Regions from separate parts of the Homo sapiens genome. Here region 2 is linked to region 1. Evidence: promoter capture Hi-C in human tissues and cell types (Jung and others, 2019). All regions are on one chromosome and are shown on one strand. Each heading gives the region's core, a stretch centred on a gene start or on the middle of the fragment in contact. The rest is flanking DNA. Distances are from core to core; before and after follow the strand shown.

What was found. The method cuts DNA at HindIII sites, captures the fragments that hold promoters and counts their contacts. A contact is called where the count stands out against the background at its distance.
Region 2: the fragment with the promoter of HEXIM2 here is called in contact with the fragment with the promoter of GFAP in region 1 in 1 of the 25 tissues and cell types used here (lymphoblastoid cells).

What each region holds. Positions count from the first base shown.
Region 1 is chr17:44,914,250-44,918,846 of GRCh38, forward strand. GFAP (glial fibrillary acidic protein) reads right to left here and starts at 1,251. Exons shown (of 9, transcript NM_002055.5): 1 at 777-1,251. The coding sequence starts at 1,237. It overlaps LOC105371793 (a long non-coding RNA gene), which reads left to right and starts at 4,470. Exons shown (of 2, transcript XR_934781.3): 1 at 4,470-4,597. The HindIII fragment of the contact is 9,658 bases long and covers 1-4,597 here.
Region 2 is chr17:45,159,471-45,163,452 of GRCh38, forward strand. HEXIM2 (HEXIM P-TEFb complex subunit 2) reads left to right here and starts at 2,405. Exons shown (of 4, transcript NM_001303441.2): 1 at 2,405-2,561; 2 at 3,018-3,165; 3 at 3,280-3,389. The coding sequence starts at 3,324. HEXIM2-AS1 (HEXIM2 antisense RNA 1) reads right to left here and starts at 2,068. Exons shown (of 3, transcript NR_186789.1): 1 at 1,991-2,068; 2 at 1-22. RefSeq lists enhancers at 1,040-1,655, 1,656-2,271, 1,925-2,154, 2,272-2,887, 2,305-2,504 and 1 more. The HindIII fragment of the contact is 41,438 bases long and covers 1-3,982 here.

The DNA.
Region 1 (4,597 bases), core at 1-2,500:
CTGGAGGATGAGCAGATGTGGGCTTTTGCCTTAACTCATTACTAAGGTGCCTTATCAGGGTTGGTGCACCTGCTTCTGCTCACACAGGCGCATCCACAAGCATACACTCACTGTTGCACACACACACACACACACGCACATGTCCTCCTGCACTTGAAGGCACACATGCATGTCCTGTCAGCTCAGTGAAGCGCCATGCCCCTGGGGATTCCTCTGATCCCAGGTAACCACCTTTTGAAATGAATTTTATTATGACCACCGCTTCACAGCTGTGCAAGTCAAAGTAACTTGATGGGGGTCACAAGCTGGTGGCAGGCAGTCACCTGTGCTTTGCGCCCAGACCTGCCTGCTCTTTCCCTCACTTTCTTCACCCCAGAATCCAATCTCCCTCATGGACATCAACCTTCTCCGCTTCCAACTCCTCCTTTATATGGACACAGGCTCAGAATAGGTGAGCTCGCTGCCCACAGTCACAAAGCCCAGCCATGAATGAAACACAGGGGCCCCGCTGCTCCTGCACTGCTTTCCCCAGTAGGGAGGTGCTGAGGGGACCCTGGACTCCTGGCAGAAGGCATGCGGGCATCAGATCCCCGGGGCCCTGGGCCTGTTTCTGGTCCCTCCCATCATGTTGGGGGGCAAGGATAGTGCCCCATCAAGAGGTAGGGAGGCCCAGGGAGCAGGGAGGTTCGGCCCCTCCCTGAGACTTCTCGGGCACTCCTTCTTGGGGATTCAGCCCCTTCTGCTCACAAGGCCCCCCTTCCCCATCCCCTCCTCACTTCTGCCTCACAGTGGCCAGGTCCTGTGCCAGATTGTCCCTCTCAACCTCCAGCCGGGCGCTGTTGGCGGTGAGTTGATCGAGCCGCAGCCGCAGCTCTCGCAGCTCAGCCTGGTAGACGTCTGCCAGCTTGGTGGGCTCCTTGGCCCGCAGCTGGTTCAGCTCAGCAGCCAGCGCCTTGTTTTGCTGTTCCAGGAAGCGAACCTTCTCGATGTAGCTGGCAAAGCGGTCATTGAGCTCCATCATCTCTGCCCGCTCACTGGCCCGGGTCTCCTTGAAGCCAGCATTGAGTGCCCCAGCCAGGGAGAAATCCACCCGGGTCGGGAGTGGAGGGGGCATTCGAGCCAGGGAGAGGCGGGTGCCAGGACCCAGACGGCGGCCAGGAGCCAGGCCCCCCACCATCATCTCCCCTGAGGAGACGTAGGAGCGGCGAGCAGCGGAGGTGATGCGTCTCCTCTCCATCCTGCTCTGGCTCTGCTCGCTCCTGGGATGCGAGGGCTTTATGAAGGAGTGGGCTAGACTGGCGATGCCCGGGTGCCCCTGGCAACACCCCCTGGCATAGCCTGAGGGGGTGGGGTTGGGCCGCAGCCCAGCTATGGGGAGAGCTCCCCTCACCCCACTGAGGTCACTGTGCCCAGAGGCAGAGCTTCCTGGGCACGCCAACTCCTGCATGAGGCAGGTGGTACCTGGAGCCAGACCATGGGTCTGGGGCCCTGACCGCTGAAGCAAGAGGACCCTCTCTCTAGGAAGGTGGGTCAAGAAAGGGTTGGTTGGACCATGATGAATACTTACAATTATTATGCATCAATTAAAAAGGAAGGAAAGGGCTGAGTGGGGTGGCTCATGCTTGTAATCCCAGCACTTTGGGAGGCTGAGGCTGGAGGATTGCTTGAGCCCAGTAGGTTGAGGCTGCAGTGAGCTGTGTTTGCGCCACTCCAGCCTGGGCAACAGAGAGAGACCTTGTCTCACAAAAAAAAAAAAAAAAAAGGGAAGGAAGGGCTGTACCAGATGACCTCTGACCTGCTTTCCAACTTTTTGATTTCATAACCCAGGCATTATCTCACTCAGCTGTAAGTGCCTGCAAGGTGCTGGGAATTTGGCGAAGAATGAACCTGTTCTGTACCCTCAAGGGCCACCTCATTTCCTACTAGGCCTCATTCCCAGCAGACTCCTGGAGTCCTTCCCTTGAACACAGATGTCCCACATTCCTGCTCTCTGCCCATTCATTCCCTGGAGTTCTGGGGCTGGGGGCTGGGATTGGACACCAGCCCTTTGTCTAAGGGTCAATCATGGCCTCTATGTGGCAGTGGAGGTCCTGATAGGGCAAGAGGGGGCCGGCACTCTCTTGCCTTATCAGGACTTTAGCCCCTGGATCTGTCCCTCCAGGTCACCCCTTCCTTGTCTGGCCTCCCTGTGCCTCTCTCCCAGAGACCAGGCCTTGACAGCTCCACAAAGCCGTTACACATGAGCTGGCTGTGCTGGCTCGTCTTTATTCCTGCAGCGCCCCGTTTCCCTGGCCACCCCTCCGTCTCCCACTGGAGATTTATTTCCTCGAGTTCCCACACATCAGCCTGGAGAGATGGGAAGAACCTCTGGGGATGGATGGGTTTGGAAACGCTGGAGCCACTGGGCCCAACTAGGAGCCTGAGACCTGGGCCCTGTTGTCCCTGGAGACTTCAGGTCCATCTACGCCCTCCACTCTGGTCCCACAGGGTCAGAACCCTGCCCAGTCCCCTCACCCATTTGTGTCCTTGGACTTCTGGGAAGCAGACAGCCCTCCTCTCCCCCCCTGCCACCCACTGTCCATGCCTGGGCATCCCCTGATCCCCTTTCCTGGGCACAGGCTGAATAGAGCCTTGTTCTCCACCGCCGGTGGCGCCACACAGCAAGGGCAGCCCCTAGGGGGCTGTGCTGCTTTTATCCCAAGATGCCAGGCTGTCAGGCTGGGGTGCAATGCAAGCCCCCTGCTCAATGGGCTTCTCGGAAGGCATTTGAGGGGGGCTGGGGTGCGGCGGGAAGCAGGCACTGTGCCCACCCCGAACATTGTGTCTGTGCCAAGGTGAGTCATTCACTGGGCATGAAGAGGAGGCCCTGGGGGGCGGCCAGCCCAATGCTGCCAGGTCTGCTTGCAGACAAGGCCTGGCTGTCTGCCTCCTCCCCAGCTCACAGAGCCAGCTCAGGCCCCCGAGCCTCTGTCAGAGCAGCGTCCCCTACTCCACACCAGGATATGTTCTTTTTTTTTTTTTTTTTTTTTTTGTCTTTTGAGACAGGGTCTCACTGTTGCCCAGGCTGGAGTGCAGTGGCGCAACCACGACTCACTGCAGCCTCAACCTCCCAGCCTTAAGTGATCCCCTCACCTCAGCCTCCTGAATAGCTGGGACTACAGGTGTGTGTCACCACACGTGGCTGATTTTTTAACTTTTTTTGTAGAGATAGGGTCTTGCCATGTTGCCCAGGCTGGTCTAGAACTTCTGGGCTCAAGTGATCCTTCCACATCAGCCTCCCAAAGTGCTGGAATTACAGTTGTGCGCCACTGCGCCCAGCCCAGGGTATGCTCTGCATTTGGACATGTGATGGACAGACTGCCTCCTGAGGTCTCCCTCTGTGAGTCCCAGCACAGAGAGGGAGGTGGGAGCTCCTTAGGCTCTAGTCACATCTGACCTGGGCGTAAGCAGTGACATAGGAAAGAGCATCTTGAAGACGGGGTGAGCGCCCAGTGACCTTTGATCCTGCTATGAACTGGGGACCTGGGGAAGGACAGGAGGCTTTAAAGGAAGAGCAAGGCTGGGCATAGTGGCTCATGCCTGTAATCCGAGCACTTTGGGAGGCTGAGGTGGGCGGATCGCTTGAGTCCAGGAGTTCGAGACCAGCCTGGGCAATGTGGTGAAATTTTGTCTGTACAAAAAATACAAAAAAATTAGCCAGGTATGGTGGTGCACTACTGTGATCCCAGCTATTCGGGAGGCTGAGGTGGGAGGATCACCTGAGCCCAGGAGGTGGAGACTGCAGTAAGCCAATGTCGCATCACTGCACCCCAGCCTGGGTGACAGAGACTCTGTCTCAATAAATAAAAAAATAAAATAAAATAAACAAAATAGAAAAGGAAGACTGGGGATAAGCTCTTGTCTGAACTCTGTCTCATCTCTGTGGCTAGGAGTGGCCCGCCTTTCCAGGCTGCCCAGCAAGTCACAGCATGTAGCCTTCCCTTTTGGTTCAAGGGAAGTCTAGTTAAAATAAGGGCAAAGCTGTCCTAGAGAGAAAAGATGTGATGAGCAGGAGGTGCCTGTCATTGAAGCTCAGTGAACTGTCCCTGTGTATGTGAGACACAAGCTTGTTTCAGCATCAGCAGTTGGAGTCCCCCAGCTTTTGCCATCAGCCACCTCCGTGGACCCCTGTCATAGGCCCAGGTGCATCCTCCACCCCTTCTCAACCCTCAGACCTTTCCTCACACTCAACCCTTAACTATCTTGTTTTTGTTTTTTGAGACAGGGTCTTGCTCTGTTGCCCAGGCTAGAGTGAAGTGGTGCTATCACAGCTCACTACAGCCTCAATCTCCCTGGCTCAAGCGATCCACCCACCTCAGCCTCTCTAGTAGCTGGGACCACAGAGATACACCACCATGCCCAGCTCATTTTTGTATTTTACTAGAGACAAGGTTTCGCCATGTTGCCCAGGCTGGTCTCGAACTGTTGGGCTCAAGTGACCCTCCCACCTCTTCCTCCCAAAGTGCTGGGATTACAGGCATGACCTATACAACCGGTACATATAGATCACGCCTGGCCAACCCTTAACTATCTAAAGGTGTCTGCACAGAGAACCAAA
Region 2 (3,982 bases), core at 1,155-3,654, 250 kb after region 1:
TTGTAATCCAGTTGTAAAACATCTGGGGAGCAGAGGGAAAAAAGTTAATGCTATGGAGTTGTCACTCCAACTGAAGAAAAATTATTAATAGGAGGAGCAGAACTTCAGTTCTGGAAAACTTTTTTTTTTTTTTGAGACAGAGTCTTACTCTGTCACCCAGGCTGGAGTGCAACGGTGAGAGGCTCATGGCAAACTCTGCCTCCTGGGTTCAAGCGATTCTCCTGCCTCAGCCTCCCGAGTAGCTGGGATTACAGGCACGCAACTCCACACCCGGCTAATTTTGTATTTTTAGTAGAGAAGGGGCTTCACCATGTTGGCCAGGTTGGTCTCAAACTCCTGACCTCAGGTGATCCACCCGCCTCCACCTCCCAAAGGGCTGGGATTACAGGTGTGAGCCACCGCGCCAGGCCAAGTTCTGTTAAACTTTTAGTAAGGCTGAAGGCTTAGGCATGTTTTGACCATTTGTAACTGATAATAAGACTCATCACAAGGTACCCACAAAATTCACTGCCAGTCACTCTGCTACGTCAAAGCCTCTCCTACTTCAGCACCTACCTAGGCATAATTTTAACTGACATTTTAGCAATAAAACTTTTATTTGAAGATATCCTTGAGCCACAAATCTCTCTGGATTTAGATTTCAAGCAGTAGGAAGTAAGATGGTTTAACCTGCAATTCAATAAAAGAACTTCACATCAAACTTCAATCTTTAAGAAGCTGCTACAGCTATAATGTAAGGTTAAGAGTTTATTCTTTCAAAGCAGGTCTCCTCATCTCTTAAACGCTATACATATGAAGTAGATAAAAACTGGTTTCTTTTTTGGTAGCATTTAGGATCTACAAAAGTGATCCTTCAATTACTTGGAATTTCAAAAAATTGAGGTTACCTAGTAACAATGCACCAGTAGAACACAAAATACTCTGACTTTGTTTAGTCTGTGGGAAAAGAAAAATCTTTAAACTGGAAAGATTTTGTAGTCTTACAAAGATTACATTGGAATTGGAATTACTGTAGTTCGTTTTTCCCTCTAGGAGGGCAGCCATTTCTCTAAAAGTTGTGTAAAAGTTAAGACTAGGATTTCAAAATGCAAGCAGATGTTGATGAAGCATACGAAATGGGCAACTCCGTTTCTATTTCGGAGCCGCAGCGACTCCGACTTTGTGCCCCAACCCTGTAAAGGGCAAAACCTCATCCCTTCGGTGTAAACTTTCAAGAGAAGTGGGGCAGCACACTTTAGGCGTTTCACCAAGAGGCTGGCGACATGCTAGGTCAGGTTGTCCGGAGAATCGGGGCTGAATGGGAGAGATCTTGAGGGCAAGAGCCTCAGAGACCTTCAGGCACCGAGCTCGTGAAGGTTTCCAAGTGCCCCTCTCTAGCTGCTCCCAGGGGGAATTAGTGGTTGCTACAGTAGTTTAAGAGGGTCGTGGTTTTTCGCAACCCGGGCGGCGAGATGGCGCTTTGGTGTAAGCGAGGTAAGGTGGGTGCACTGGGATCTCCGCTCTCGGAGCCTCCAGCTGACTGCCACGCCGACTTGTGGCCAGACCTGCGACCTCCGCCCTCCCCCGCGGCGCCAGCCTCTGGAATCTGGCGTCGCCCCCACCTCTCCAGTCGAAGTGGGAGTCCCTCTGTGCGGGGCCTCGCCGCCATACCCAGGCCGAATGGGGGTGGGGAGGGAAGCTGGCAGAGCTCGGCCTCAGGATCCGCGCCCCTGTGGAAAGACCGCAGAGGGAAGCCGTTTCACCAGCCTCTCCCCTTCTGGGGTCTCGGGAAACACGCGGTAATTACCGAAGAACCCCGCACTCTGTGAGAGGCGAGGCTGCGGGGCTGCCGGGACGGTTTGAGGACCGGGCTCGGCCGAGGAGACTCCAACCTTCACCCTCCCTGGCCCCCGGTCCCACTTCCCGCCGTCTCCCGGCGCCGCCACTTCAGGTAGCCCACTCGGCCCGGCCTCTCCCCGCGCCCGGACCACCCCCCACGGGGTGCTCTCACTGCGCAGCGAGTCCCTCCGCTGCCTCCTCCCAGCCCAAAATGGCGGCGATGGCCGCCGAGCTTCTCGTCGCCTTCCTCAAAGGCCAAGGATCCCTCCGCGCCTGCTGCCCCGCCCACCTTAGCCGGATCTATTTTCTGCCCCGTAAAGATTAACGCCATCAATGAACTCTTTAATTGAGTTCGGAGAAGGCGGGTCCAGTTGTGCCTCCTCACAGCTAATCGTTGCCAAAAAAGCGAGAATATTGGCAGAAGGCTTGACCAATCAAAGAAGGCAGTGATGCGCGCGCGGTCTGCCCCCGCGCAAGGGTAGATGGGTTTTGGAGTCTCGGGTGTGGCTGTTGACGTTACAGGCCCTTGGATCGCTTTTCAGGCCAGAAGAACTACAATCCCCAGCAGGCACCGCGCGTCCAGGCTCTCTCTTCCCCCCCATCTTAGTGGCCTGAGCGGCTTGACCAGAGCTGCTGCAACTGCAGCAAGAGGTAGGGCTCAGGCGTTGGGAATTGCACCGACAGGCAGTCGCACAGAAAGGCACACAGATGTAGTGGTGTGCATAGCCCTTGACAGCGAATAGGTCAGTTCCACCTTTGCAAAACCTCTTTCCATGACTGTCTCCCTTCTTCCAAGAAATCCATCCTTATCCTAGTTGGGTTTCCCTCCCAGCTGCATGTAGTGCAAAGACCTCTTTCCCCTTTTCTCCTGTTTCCCTTTCTGAGAGGAAGGAGGGAGGCAGGCCAGGACCTTAGAGGAAAAGTCCTCAGCACTAGGCTGGCCCAGGTCCCAGCTGTGCTTCTGGCCTTTGGAGCCCAGCTTGGGGAGAAGGTTGGGGGTGCAGGGCTGCATCAAGATTGGGGCCACTGGAGACAGTGGGGAAGGACTCGTGAGCTTGCTCCATGTTCTCCCGTGGCAGCAGCAGCCCCGCTGCACTCCCAGCCTCCCCAGGCAGTCCTCCTTTGCCCCTTTGGTGGTTGGGGAAACAAAACTTACACCTGGCTTCCTGGCTGCCAACCTGGGCCTCGGTGACTTCCAGGAGGACAGTACAGGACATGAGTCCTGGTGAGGGACCCGAGGAGCAGGACAGAGAAGACGGCCCCTGAATCCCATTTGGCCCCTTGCTGGCTGGAGGTGTGAAAACCAGCGGTGGAGGCAGCCTTCGGGGCCTGCATTTGAGAATAAGGGTATGAAGGGCTGGGGTACAAAATGGCTGCCACTGCCTGGGCAAACAATTCTGGGCAGCCAGAGTATTCCTGACGTTCCTTCAGGATTTAGGTTTCTGTTGTTGTTCAAAGCAGGTGTCACTAGTTCCAGGCGTCTGCTGAAAGATTTGGAACAGAAGATGATGGCCACTCCGAACCAGACCGCCTGTAATGCAGAGTCACCAGTGGCCCTGGAGGAGGCCAAGGTAAGTCCCTGCCCTCCTGCCCACCCAAGCACCACGAGCACGGGTCCCACAGCTGAGATCCAAACTTCTTGTCCCAGATGTGTTGGTAGATTTGGAAAACCAGTATTTTGACGAATCAGTACTATGCACTAGGCAATAGGCCGGAATCCCAGTCTATGCTAGCTGATGAAATCTTAGTAACTGGCCGGGTGCGGTGGCTCACACCTGTAATCCCAGCACTTTGGGAGGCCTAGGTGGGTGGATCACCTGAGGTCAGGAGTTCGAGACCAGCCTGACCAACATGGCAAAACCCTGGCTGTACTGAAAATGCAAAATTAGCCTGGCATAGTGGTGGCGCATGCCTGTGATCCCAGCTACTTGGGAGGTTGAGGCAGGAGAATCGCTTGAACCCAGGGGTCGGAGGTTGCAGTGAGCCAAGATCTCGCAATTGCACTCCAGCCTGGGCGTCAGAGCGAGACTCCGTCTCAAAAAAAAAAAAAAAAAAAAAAAATCCTAGTAACCCTTTCAGGTAGGAATTATTTCCAATTCCCAGAAGCTAAGGTTCTGAGACCTGAAATACCTGTTCCAGAATCATGCTATCTACAAGCAACAGA